Regions from separate parts of the Homo sapiens genome. Here region 1 is linked to region 2. The links are contacts of gene promoters, found by promoter capture Hi-C in blood cells and fetal thymus (Javierre and others, 2016). All regions are on one chromosome and are shown on one strand. The core of a region is centred on a gene start or on the middle of the fragment in contact, and the rest is flanking DNA. Distances in the headings are between cores, read along the strand shown.

Evidence for each region. Contacts are between HindIII fragments. The CHiCAGO score rates a contact against its expected background, and 5 or more counts as called.
Region 1: a fragment that was not itself captured here is called in contact with the fragment with the promoter of SMCO3 in region 2 in 2 of 17 cell types (megakaryocytes and M2 macrophages); the score reaches 6.4 in megakaryocytes.

The regions. Positions count from the first base shown.
Region 1 is chr12:15,235,804-15,243,054 of GRCh38, forward strand. No RefSeq gene overlaps it. Among named protein-coding and RNA genes, the nearest start is that of RERG, 18 kb to the left of the region's middle. The HindIII fragment of the contact is 955 bases long and covers 3,504-4,458 here.
Region 2 is chr12:14,811,136-14,817,704 of GRCh38, forward strand. It overlaps SMCO3 (single-pass membrane protein with coiled-coil domains 3), which reads right to left and starts at 3,047. Exons shown (of 2, transcript NM_001013698.2): 1 at 2,991-3,047. All of the region lies in intron 1 of C12orf60 (chromosome 12 open reading frame 60), which reads left to right. The HindIII fragment of the contact is 14,101 bases long and covers 1,556-6,569 here.

The DNA of each region.
Region 1 (7,251 bases), core at 2,731-5,230, 430 kb after region 2:
CATTGTGGTTTTGATTTGCATTTTCCTGATCATTAGTGATGTTGAGCATTTTTTCATATGTTTGTTGTCCATTTGTATATCTTCTTTGGAGAATTGTATATTCATGTCCTGAGCCCACTTTTTGGTGGGACTGGTTTTTGTTTGTTTGTTTGTTTTTTCTTACTGATTTGTTTGAGCTCCCTTATGTTGGAGTCAAGGACTCTGGTGCTTCTGGCTCCTGTCCAGAGCACTGCCTACCTTGCCGTCTCCAGCTGTCACATAACTGTGCTCCTGGATCTCCAGCTTTCAAGTAACACATTTGATGTTTTAGCTTTCATCATCCTCCATTACCTTAAAGCATTCCACTAGGAATGACCTTTAGTCTTAAGAGACCAGGGTGTTCCTTTCCACAAAGTGTTTACTGTAATTTTTTTTTTTTTTTTGATGGAGTCCTGCTCTGTCGCCAGGCTGGAGTGCAGTGGCAGGATCTTGGCTCATTGCAATCTCTGCCTCCCAGGTTCAAGCGATTCTCCTCCCTCAGCCTCTGGAGTAGCTGGAACTACAGGCACGTGCCACCATGTCCAGCTAATTTTTGTATTTTCAGTAGAGATGGGGTTTCATCAGTCTATTGGCCAGATTGGTGTAAAACTCCTGGCCCCAAGTGATCTGCCTGCCTTGGGCTCTCAAAGTGCTGGGATTATGGGCATGAGCCACCACACCCAGCCCCACTGTGATTTTGAGGGAGGTTTTCCATTGCCCATTCCATTGCTACAGTGAGGGAGGCTTTCTACTGACGTAAAACTCTCTAGCAACCTTGATAGGATAAGAAGAGTCTGAGATTTGGGTACTCCCTTGAAGACATTGCCTATTATGTATCTAAACCTCCACTTTATAGTGAAGTGACCCTCACTTTATAGGTATTTAATAAATGATGGAAGTTTCCTCGGTACCCTATGTGGATGGAAACCCATCACTGGCTGCTTTACAGGATTTTGTTTTTAATATTTTGTGACAACATACTTATGTTACTTTTGGTTCAAGGAATAGTTCATTTAGGAGTTTAATAGTAAGAATTTGTTAACAACAAGAACAGAATTTTTACCCCTGCATTAGATTAATTCCATAAATTTTTAACAGTTATTTGTTTCTATATTTTAATATAAAACAGCAGGTTTAAAATATGAAACACAGATTAAAATGAGACTAAAATAATTGACAGTTTCTTTTAACCACAGAGGAAACTGGGCAAGGAAAATCTTAGGATGGAGGAACTGAAAAACACTAAATTAGGAGTACTTGATTAGATATATGTAATCTAACCAGGAAGCAGACATGCATTTTTCTCATTTTAAAGACAAAGAATGGAAATATGTGATTTTCCTCTGTGTCCAGCAAGTCAGGGGCAATGAGCTAGGCAATGAGCTCCTATAAAGTTGTCTCTGAGACACATTACTTCTCATATAATGCAGTAGACATGAGTGGAAGTGATTAATATCCTAGACTGTAATAATTAATCTGTCAGCCTCCTATTGCCAATAAAAATGAAAACAACAATCTCTAACATTGAGATAGCATTTTTGTGATGTTCTAATTTCTTTTACTCTACTTTTCACTGCATCATTTTAGAGAAAAGGACGCTGAGAACCAAAGAGCAGTTTGTCTAAATTTACAAAGGTAGTAATTATTAAGTATGAGTTAGATTTTTTTAAATGTAGTATGGATTTTGTTTTGATAAACACATATTTGACGATTTAATCTTTCACTTATAGGTTATCTATATTGTTTATTCCTTTAATAAACATTACAGAGCCCCTGATATACCTGAGGTACTGTGCTAGATTCTGAGGATACTTCAAGGAATGATTCAGACACGGTTCATCCCATGCATAATTTACAGTATATTGATGAAGACAGTTATTAAACAAGGGATGAATATTATAAAACAATTTCGGTGTTTTCCACACTTGCCTCATGGTTAGTCACAGGTATAGTGTGGTATCTTTATTGTGCCACAGACTGGTAGACTTAGCCACACTGGATGTTAGTTGGATGATAACTCCTTTGAAAGAACTAAGACTCATTAAGTATACGTAAAGAGGGCTGGTGCTGTTCAGGGGACAGGAGTAGGAATCATGTCTTCCAGAGGTTTAGTGAAATGGGTAGACTGTGAGGCTGAATTTCAATGAAGAGACTTAGGTGAACATCATCAAGAATACAAAGACAGGAATTTCCCAGGACAGGGAAGGAAGGAGTACGTTGTTGAGACCAAATTCAACATATGCAGGGACAATGTCCATAAGCTATATTTTTTTGAAGAGGATAAAGAATGGACCAAACACAAGCAAAGGCCAGAGTTACTCTAAAAAAAATAGCTTGGTGGGCAGATGCTATCTTTAATGAGGCAACTCAAGGCTTCTCTAGGGCTATTTTAGTCAGAAAGGGGAGAGAATCTCCAAATATGGTCCATTTCCTTAATGCAACCAGGAGTCAAATGAGAAACTCATTTAAAATTCCACGAAAATTGGGTGAGGAGGGAGAATATTTCTCTTAGAAAAAAAAAATCCCCTTCTAGGTATAGGCTCTAGTAATGTTGGGTAAATATTTGGATATTTGGATATTATGATTAGCTAAGAATGGAGACCATCAAAAATCAGGTTGAATAACAATGGGTTATTGACAATTTGCCTTTTAAGGAAGGCGGGTCCAGTTGACCTCAGAAGTTCTTCAAGTGAGATTATTTTTTAAGTGGAATCTGAATTTGTTGGGACAATAGAGTATAACTTAGAGATTTATGGGGAAAATATCAAGAAAGAAAAACATCTCTAGGCTGGCAGCTGAAGAATTACTCTCTGGGAGAAAAAAGGTCTAATGGAGATTGTTACTAAGTTCTTTGCTATGATGTGTGCAATGTAAATTTGCTCTTTTATTTCTGCAATTAAAATCTACATTGTGACTTGCATTTGACCTTGAAGCATGTGACCAAGTATTGTGTTCTTATTGAAGTTGATACAGGAAAAACTACAGGTTATTCATATGGAGTGCCAAATGTGGGTTATAATACTCATAATAATAAATACCACTTACTTAGCATTACTATGCCCTAAATGTTTTCCTTATGTTGTCTTATTTGCCCTTTACCCCAATTATATGATTTAGTGTGTAGTTGTGGTTTTAATTGCCTTGGCTTGAACTGACCTATATCATTACTTCTCATCTTCCATTGGCAAAACTTAGTCACATGATAACACTATAATGGGCACCAGCAAATAGAGCCTCCAGCTGTACTATTTCTTCCCAGATATAACTCTCTAGTGTAAAAGAGAGAGCACACATTTGATAGATAGCAGTCATATTGGCCATGTCAGTCAGGCAGATAGTATCCCCATTATATACATGAGAAAAAGGAGACTTAGGAAAATTGAGTAACTTCCTCAATATCACACAAATAGAAGTGGAAGAGCCTGATCCATGCCAGATATTTTTTAGATGCTAACTACATATGATCTAATTTAAATGTAAGGTAAAGCTTATTTAAGTGAAATGAGTTAGATGAAATAGAGTTAAACTGACAGCCCCAACCACCAGATAAAAAGGTAACAGAAGCCATTAAAATGAATGGGGATAAAAAATGAACTCAAAGACACACTGTTAAATAGAAAAGAAAGAGCAAACCAGTAAGATACAATTTGTATATTAAACAGTTGTAATTATACACAGGCACTGTGCTCAGGCACAGGGAATATCTCTGGAAGGGGGATTCAGAGCTGCTGGGACAGTGGTTTCTTCTGAGGAAGATAACTGAGGGCTTGGAGAAGGACTTCCCTTTCATTATACACCTGTTTGAACCTTTTGAATATTTTATTGTGTGCATGCAATTACTTATGCAAGTTTAAAATTTTAAGTCAAATGTCAAAAGTTGATCAGAAGATAGCATAATCCTTTAGGAACTGCTGCTCATTCTCCAGGCTGGAGAGACTCTTTAACGCTGAACTTCCCACCTTCGCTCTTTTGGCGCCACGTAATCTCCAAGGATACGATTCTTAACTCCTGTTGATGTGAAACTATATTGACTCCTGGAAATCTCAGGGGTCGTTGATCCTGGTCCCATTGTCAATAGACAACTCTTCGACTTGGTTTTACCTCCCTATTTCCTGGCAATTAAACTATCCAGGTTGACTTAGCATTAACCAAGCCACCTTCAAATTTACCACTTATGCTTGGATCTATTCTCCCGAGACTGAAAGTCTAGCCAGTCTTTCTGCGTGACTGGTCCCAGTGCAGCACACATGTAGGAAATCTGCAGAAATAAACCAAGATATATGATTGGCGAATGAGTGATTTGAGAACAAAGGATAATAACATTTCAAATGTGAATTCCTACAATTAAGGATTTGAAAGAAAATGGAAATCACATTTTTCTCTTCATGTTTATCAGAGCAAATCATTAGTGATGTTTATGCCAGCTATCTAGTTAGGTCAAGCTTTACCATGGCCAGAAATGATTTTCATAAACATGCAAGCAGGTGGAAACAACTTAAAAATAGCCTTGAATGGAAATAATTACCACTTTATATTATCACAAAAGCATATCTTTGTGGCAGAAAGCCCCATTCCTACTTGGCAAAGCCCTAATTACCACTGTTTACGAGAAGAGTGTTGATGCCTTAGTCGAAATTCCTGGGTTCCAAAGTTCAACTTTTTTTTCCCTAGAGTTTAGAAAATGCTAAAAATTATCTTTTGGTCCAAAATGGCTTCACAGACAGTAATTGTTCCAATGATGCACAAAGTATTGCTCAAGCACTTTTGTCTTATGTTGAAGCCCTTGTTTTTAAAGGAACAGAATGCAACTAAACAAATGTAGAAATTAATCCTTAATCCTAATAGTTAAATCTCCATTTAAAACTATATACACAATAGTTGTCTCCACTAGAAGTTAAAATAATTTGAACAACTACAAAGTTAAAACAAAATTTATAATGAAAGCATTTTAGGGCATAAAATACATTAAACTAAGTTATACTATATTTCTTAACTAGAACATGATGCTGTTATTTGGAATGCAGGGGGAAAAACATAAATTTGACCTTTCATACATTCTCAAATATTTCATGTTGTTTGAGGTATGGACATATTACATACATTCCTTAATTCATTTATATATTCACTGATGCCAAACAAACATTTCTAAGATTATTTGTTTTAAGCTTATTTGGACAGTGAAAAATGTCAGTATACAATATGCTTAATTCTACTTCAGCTTAGAAACGGTTGTCTCAGCTCAAATGTCAACTTTTAAAACCAAATAGAAGAGTCAGCAATTACGTTCTAACATTTAGATCTGAGAGTGAAAATGAATACTGGCCGCCCTCCTAATCGTTTTCTGCTTTTGTTTTTGTTTTCCTTTTTGCTTTTTTATTTCACTTCTCCTCCTTGACCCACAAAACTTGAAGATTGAAATGTAATTTTCTTTTGTAAGACTTTGTTATTGATTTAATGAATTAAAAGCAACTTACTTGTATTTAAAAAATCAGCTTATATTTTGGTTCGTCAATGCTTTCAATCTTCTCATAATGCTACAGCCCATTCCGACATTAACTTATGGACTTATATCTATCAAGTATCAACAGTGACAGAAACAAACTTCTTCTCTGGTAGAAGAAAATCTATCACGATATTGCTTTGCCTTTTACCTTTCAAAATGCTGTGATACCAACCATGTATTTTTCCCCTCATCTCTCTTAAACTTTATTGTAAAATTCTTTCTGTACCTTAACTCTAAATATCGGAGTTCTTTGAATCCCCTAGATGAGATTCCTTTTCTTCTCTCTCTCTCTTCCTCAATGTTCTTAGGCAGACCTATAGTTCGAATGCTATCTCTGTCCAGATGAATCCTATGTTTATATAACATTATGATATCTGTGAGCTTTCCTGTCTTGAGCAGAGGCCACAAAGGCTGAGAGCAACACAATACGAGGCAAGTATCTTACGTCCTAGAGAAGATACTAAACCAGATGGGGTGGTCATGCTAAGGGATTATAAAACTGGTACTGCCAGCATTGGTCTGTTGCCTGCCTTCTGAATCTGTGAAGGAAGGTGGCAGATCCAAAGGAGGTTGAAGCAGCCACTTTCAAAATAATTTCTTTAAAGGGAATTGTCAGTGTGCTATCCATTTCCCCCAAGTTTTCCACACAGCTATGAAGGAGGGGAGAGGTACTCCCCTCTCATCTTCAACCATGTGAGTTGGAGTTTGTGAGAAGTATTTAGAGTTTAGCACACACTTTTGTTTTGAGATGAGGTCTCACGCTGTTGCTCAGGCTGGAGGGCAGTGGTGCAATCTTGGCTCACTGAAGCCTCAACCTCCTTGGCTCAAGCAATCTTTCCACCTCAGCCTTCTGAGTAGCTGGGACCACAGACACATGCCACCCCACCCAGCTAGTTTCTTTCAAAAATATTTTTTTGTGTGTAGACAGGGTCATGCTATGTTGCCTGAGCTGGTGACAAACTCCTGGATTCAAGCAATCCTTCCACCTTGGCCTCCCAAAATGCTGGGATTGCAAACATGAACCACCACATGGGGCCAAAGCACACACGTTTGGAAGAACACTGGAACTAGTACCAGACTTACTCTAAGAGAAGGTTGTGTTGAGGTGTGTTGCCAGTTCACAGACTCAGGACAACAGTACACGTTTTCCAGGTGCCAGATATGGACTTCATGAGCTACCTTGAAAATAGTCCTGCTGAGGAAAGTTTCCTACCAGGGAATTGACTAGGGGTATACCAGCTGTTTATTTTTGCCCTACCCACAGGGCACCAATCCCATGTTTTAATCATACCAGTTATTTATCCTTTATCCCCCAACCCCCTTGGAATCTGCAGAGGCTCAGAACAATCATAAGCTACTGAAAGTGTGAGGACATGTCCCACTATGGGGTTCAAGAGTCCAAATACAAAACAGCTTGGGGGAGAGGAAAAGTTTCAAATTGGATGAGGATCTGAAATTTTTATAGTTTGGAAACTACAATGGATTTTTATGTTGCCTGATACTATCTTAAAAGCCATGCCATTTTGCCATTCATCGGGAGCGAAAGAGCAACTCAACAGAAAGGAATTAAAAGGACCAGTTGGAGAAAATATAAACCTGCTTTCTGTTTGCAACCTACTGTGTACAAGTCCTTCCAAATAATGGTTGCCATTTTATATCACACCCAGACTTAACCTCTAAGCTCTAAATTAAATATGTAACCGAACACTTGATGTCTACATTTAGATGCT
Region 2 (6,569 bases), core at 1,797-4,296:
CACATGATGGTGCTTCCTGTTGGTGAAAAGTTCCACTTGGGGAATTACCATCCACTTTTGTACAGAGTTTGTGCTATTATTTGAATATTTTCTTGTAGTTATCCATGAAATGGGTTCTGTAGTGCCCTGGAGCAGCCCATTGGGAATTGCTAGACAGCAGGTGGAGCTCTTGGTCTCTGGGTCTCCCATTTTTCACCTGGGCCTTTGCTGGACTGGAGCAGCTGTGCTTTCTCTTGCTCTACACATTTGGGCTCTGGGTAGGTAAAATTTTATTTGATGAGAGAGTTCTGTTGCTAAAACAAAGTTTGGAAATTTTTGACTTGTTATTTTATTAAAAAATGACAAAAAACATCTGAAAGTGCTGATGTCATTGGTCAGCACACCTTAAGAAATGAAAATGGAGACAAAGGTTAGCTTGAGATGGATGCTTACTGCACCTAACCTTGTTAATTTTTTTGAATTGAGAAGTCAACATTTAAGATTAAAGGGCATCTAAGATATGGTAGAAATATGCTGATAATTGTGTCTAAAAGTTAAGTTTTATTTAATGACATCATACAGTTGTTTTAGTTTTTCAGAAAAGGAACTACCTTACAAAATGAAAATGTACTGATCATCATATGTTCAAATACAACTCTTCAGGGTACTTTCGTGAATAACAGTAGTGCGTTGACTGTCAAGTGCTGTTGAACTTAGAAATTAATATCAAGGTGATTAGAGAAAGCTTCATGGAGAATGCAATATATGATTTATACTTTGATAGATGGTACATTATGGAGAAATTAAAAGTGAACGGTTTGGTAAAACGATTTTTAAATATATACTTATTACCAGTAACATATACACTTTTTTAAATAGAGGAGGAAAAACACCCATAAACCTACCATTTCACTTTTGATTTTTGTTATTCTTTTTCAAAATTTGTTTATATGCATAAGTATCTTCACAAAGTTATCATAATAGTATAAATAAAATTCATCTTTTATTCACTTAACACTTTCCCCTATTTATAGCTTTAAAAATATTTGGCCGGGCGTGGTGGCTCACGCCTGTAATCCGAGCACTTTGGGAGGCCGAGGCGGGCGGATCACGAGGTCAGGAGATCGAAACCATCCTGGCTAACACGGTGAAACCCCGTCTCTACTAAAAATACAAAAAATTAGCCGGGCGCGGTGGCGGGCGCCTGTAGTCCCAGCTACTTGGGAGGCTGAGGCAGGAGAATGGCATGAGCCTGGGAGGCAGAGCTTGCAGTGAGCCGAGATTGTGCCACTGCACGCCGGCCTGGGTGACAGAGGGAGACTCCGTCTCAAAAAAAAAAAAAATTTTATTGGTTACGTATACTATTCCCTGTCTTTACCCTGGTTCAATAAATCTAAAATTGTTTCACTATCACTAATATTCTAATGAGCATTTTGATACCCACAGATTTTTTTTCCTCCATTATCTGGATTATTTCCTCAGCATAAGTACCTAGAAGAATTACATAATTAGTGGCATAAGTAATGGGAATTAAATTTTTATTACTTTTGATATGTATCGTAAATTGCATTCCAAAAGCTTTTACTGTGCTACCCCAAATAAATTTTTATAGCAGGATACTGGGTATCCTGCTATAAAATTTTTACAATTTTTATTTTAGATTCAGGAGGTACATACACAGGTTTGTTCCCTGACTATACTGTGTGTTGCTGAGGTTTACTGTGAATGATCCTGTCACCCAGATACTGAGCATAGTGCTGGTATATTTCCCAGTCAAAGATGGTCCTGTTTAAATATTGTTGATTTGGGAAGAGTAAGGTTAAATTTCAAAAAGAGAAGTTCTTGCCTATTTGGAAATACATACTGAAAACATTTAAGATGAAATGAAATGGTCTCAGAGATTTGTTCACAAATAATCTGGAAAGAATAGTGGGGTAGGGTTATAGAGGAAAAAAGATTGGCCTTGTTTTGATAATTTTTAAAGCTGAGTTATGGGTACATGGGAGTTTATTATATTATTGTCTCTACTTCTGTGTATGTTTGAACTTTTCTTATAACAAATAAAAAAGAAAGAAAAAGAAAAACGTGACCCTGTCTAAACCTCTGATGTTTAGTCGTTAGTGCTCTCTGAGGTTTTACATTTCTTCTTGCTGTCACTTTTCTTCACTGTCCAAACAGGGTTTTGCCATCATGCACAGTTTCCTTATCTGGGAGTGTGGAAATAGGGTATAGGTAAAATCAGGAGCTTTTCAGAAGAAAATAACAGCTTCTAACTAGTTCTGAGTCTCCTTTAATTCAAATAAAAATCTGTGGCCTTTAATTAAAACAAAAATTGATCATGATGTGATGATATACTTTCTGATATAAATTCATTTAAAAAATGTTTCTGACCAGAAAGAAGAATATTAAAGTCATTCATCAGCATTTATCAAGTGCTCACTGGTGAAGCCTCTACTGTGTCCCTTGAGGCATTTGAAAACGACAATGTTCCTTGCCCTCAAGACGATAACAGCCTGTTTGGAGACACACAGCAAATGCTCAGAGATATTTAGATACAACATAATTTATGAAGGAGTATAAGTACTATACATTAACCAGTATTAGATTCCACATTCATTCTTTCATAGATAGGTACTGAGTGCCTATATTAATATTAATGACATAGAAGGAAATGTTACTATCCATGTAAACTTCACACATTCACACAGGTATCATTTCATCCTTAATCCTTCTTAGAATTGATGTCTTTACTGCTTCTCTTCCACTCTGACTTAATCAGTCCTAGAAATTGTTAATTTTCTTCCTTCTCTGCTGTCTTCAGAGAAGGCACCAGGAAAGGTTCCTTCCAAATCACAAGGAACATGTCATGGGATCCTCTTATAACAAAGCTGTTTTTTTACTTTATTTTATTTATGGTTAGGATTCAAGACTGACGGGCTAATTCAAATTCCTCCTACTACTGAGAAACAGAGTATTATATCAATACTAATAGAAATATCCACGTTGCTTACCTTGCTGTGTTTCTGAGTTCCGTGGTCCTAGCAGTTGTTTAGGAGTATTGTTAAAGTGCTTTTTCATCTGGTTTCATCTGGATATTTCTGATGGAATGTGATGACTTACAGACTTTGCTAGTCTCTGCTGGGTCCCTCTGCCTGTCTGGTTTATAGGCTATTTCTACATGGCTTGGCCCTCAGAATTCCTTCATTTCCTATTAATAAAAACTTAGTATACAGTATTAAGTTATATAAACTGGAAGACTAATAGTGTGTAAAACTTATTTTTAAATTTCTGTTCTTTAATGGACTTTTTATTGTTGAGAAGCGCTATATAACTGAGCTAATTCAATTTAGTAGAGAAGATGGCTCTTTGATTGCAGCTCTCAGATTTTGGGGTTTTATCTTGTCAACTATTCCAGATACTAAGTTTCTTTTAGCTTCTGTTGCATTTGCACCTCTAACTGTTGCTGATTATTTAAATTCTCAAGATATATAAATGCAGTTACTTGCATCCAATTTTTTTTTCTCTTCTTTCCAGCTAGGAGTTCTCCTCTTTGTCATTCTTTCTCTTCCTGTGTTTGTAAATTGTCTTGACAATATAAAAACCTTAAAGTCCAACTTCACTCTTTTCCCTGAAAGCTCAGATCAGTCTTCCCTGCTGCTTCTTCCCAGCTTCAGTCTTCAGACCCGTTAATTCCTCCACAGCAAAGACACCTGAGTGGCAGGGAAATCACTCAGCCCCAGTGTAACTTAGTGAAAGACAGCAGGCTTTACACTCAGACAGTCCTGGTTTTGTGTACTCCAAGTACCACTTACTAGTCATGTAATCCTAAGAAAGTCACTTAGCCTGAGTTTTCCCATTGGTGTAATATGAGTATTAGTTAATAATTTATGGATTAAATGGGATAGTGTTTATAAAGTAATTGGCATAGTGGCTGATATGTGGCAAAATCTTATGAAACGGTAGCTATTCATATATTAACAACAGTATCTCCTGGTGGAGGGGAGAGGAGAATGGGTGGGTACAGGATACAGAATCAAAATGCCAGACAGGCAGACAGGAAACTTTAAAATCTAAAGATGCTGCCCTGTGATTCTAAAGAAGGGCTAAGTGGGGTCACTTTTCTACTTTTGTCCCAGTGGATCATCTTGCCCTTGATGTATCCAGGGCCCCACCACGTACGGATGTGTGGCCAGTGTATCTGAACTAGGTATGGATGTTAAGTAGGATTTTAATAGATGTTTGGGGAGGATGGTGGTATAGAGGAAATAATACAGATAGAGGGAACACTGAGAGCAAAGGAGCTGAACCAAAAATTGTAGAACATTTTCAGGGAACAAAAACCAACCTGCTGGTGATACAGGGTGTAAGTGGGAGCAGTTAAGGGAAGGTAAGTCATGGAAAATTGAAAATAGTTTGTAGATAGCCTTAGATGTCATGCTAGGAAATTGTATTTCATTCTGTAGATAATAATGAACCATTAAAAAATCCTTTTAATTATGGTGTAATATTTGGAGATTTGGATTTCAGGAAGGGTACATTATGTAAACTTGATTAGTAGGTATGGACAATAAAGCATAAGTTACCAACCCCATTGCCTACAGTATGTGGACAAAATATGTCTGTCTTTTACCCTGTCTTAAAACAGTTGCATTTTGTTTCCGAAGAGGCTATTGTTGAAGAGTACCATTTAACCCACTTGTTCCTAAGGTGTTTGTTTCTCTCCTATTTCTACCCTTCTTAACATTTATTGCCTACTCATCCACTCCTTTCTCTCCTACCACATAGCAGCCTAAGTGGAGTTGCCAAAATTAAGGATAAACAGTAACAATGCAAAATAATTATCAGAGAAAAACTAGAAGCAATATTGACTTCATACTGAGCCCCCTAATCAACTTGAACTTCTTTTTTCTGCAATCAGTTTCTCAGGTTGAAAACTTGAACTTCTTAAATCTTTCTTGACTACTAAAGCCAGTATTAACGTCAAGTCAATAGTCAGAACTGAACCTTAGGAAGGAGGCACATTTTCTTAGTGTAGATCTTGGAGTCAGGGTGGTTTTAGGGAATCAGGAAGGCTGATTTGACAAGTTTCACTGCTGGATTGACAGTGGTGGGAAATGAGAGTGAAAGCAATAATATCTCCAAACTTATCTGCATGTAGCTCTCACTTGATCGTCTTTTATTTAGAATGCTTTATTTTCCCTTTTATCCTAAAGCTCATCCCCTTCTTTTCCTAAAATCTCTGCTCAAAAACCATATATTACATGACCCTGAATAAACTGCCCGATTCAATTACGATTGTTTCAACAATTTGCCAGCACTTATGAATGCTGCACTTAAAAAAAAATCAAGCAAACCTAAAAATAATCACCTTTTTGACCCAATAGCCTCCTTTATCTTTCTTCTTCACAGTTAGACTTCCCAGTTTGGTAGTGTACATGCATTGCCTCTACTTCATTTTCTCCATTAATTTTCCAGTATTTATAATCTAGCTTCTGTACATATTCCTGCCTCTTGCAAAATTGCTTTTCTAGCATTGTCAATGACATTGTAATGACTAAACATAAGAAATAATTTACAGTGTTTATCATACTTGCAGCATTTGAAATTGCTGATCAGGTCTTTATATTTTCTCTTTTTTTTTTTTTTTTGAGACAGAGTCTCACTCTGTCACCCAGGCTGGAGTGCAGTGGTGCCATCTTGGCTCACTGCATCCTCCGCCTCCCAGGTTCAAGCAATTCTCCTCCCTCAGCCTCCCGAGTAGCTGGGATTACAGGCGTGTGCCACACCCAGCTAATTTTTGTATTTTTTAGTAGAGACGGGGTTTTGCCATGTTGGGCAGGCTGGTCTCCAACTCCTGGCCTTAAGTGATCTGCCTACCTCAGTCTCCCAAAGTGTTGGGATTACACTAAAATAAAATACTTAAATATAAATCTAAGAATATATGAGCCACCATGCCCGGCCAATTTATCGTTTTTTCTTTAATGGATATGCTTTTGGTGTCATACATATCAAAGGACTAATCAGCTAACCAAAAGTTACAAGATTTTCTTCTGTATTTTCTTCTGTTTTATGGTTTTATATTTTTCATGTCCCATTTTGAGTTAATTTATGTATGTGTATGGTATGACATAAAATCAAGGTTTATGTTTTTGCATATGGGTATCAGGCTTTTCCAGCACCATTCATTGAAAAACCCTAAACTTTCTTTTTTTGTTGTTGTTCTTTCTTTGTTTTTTGTTTTTATTTATTTCTTCCAAAACAAAAGGGAGGATACATGTGCAGAATGTGCAGGTTTGTTACACAGGTATACATGTGCCATGGTGGTTTGCTGCACCTATTGACCCATCCTTTAAGTTCCCTCCCCTCGCCCCCCACTCCTCAACTGGCCCTGGTGTGTGTTGTTCCCTTCTCTGTGTTCATGTGTTCTTATTGTTCAACTCCCACTTATGAGTGAGAACACGTGGTGTTTGGTTTTCTGTTCCTGTGTTAGTTTGCTGAGGATGATGGCTTCTGGCTTCATCCATGTCCCTGCAAAGGACATGATCTCATTCCTTTTTATGGCTGCATGGTATTCCATGGTGTATATGTAA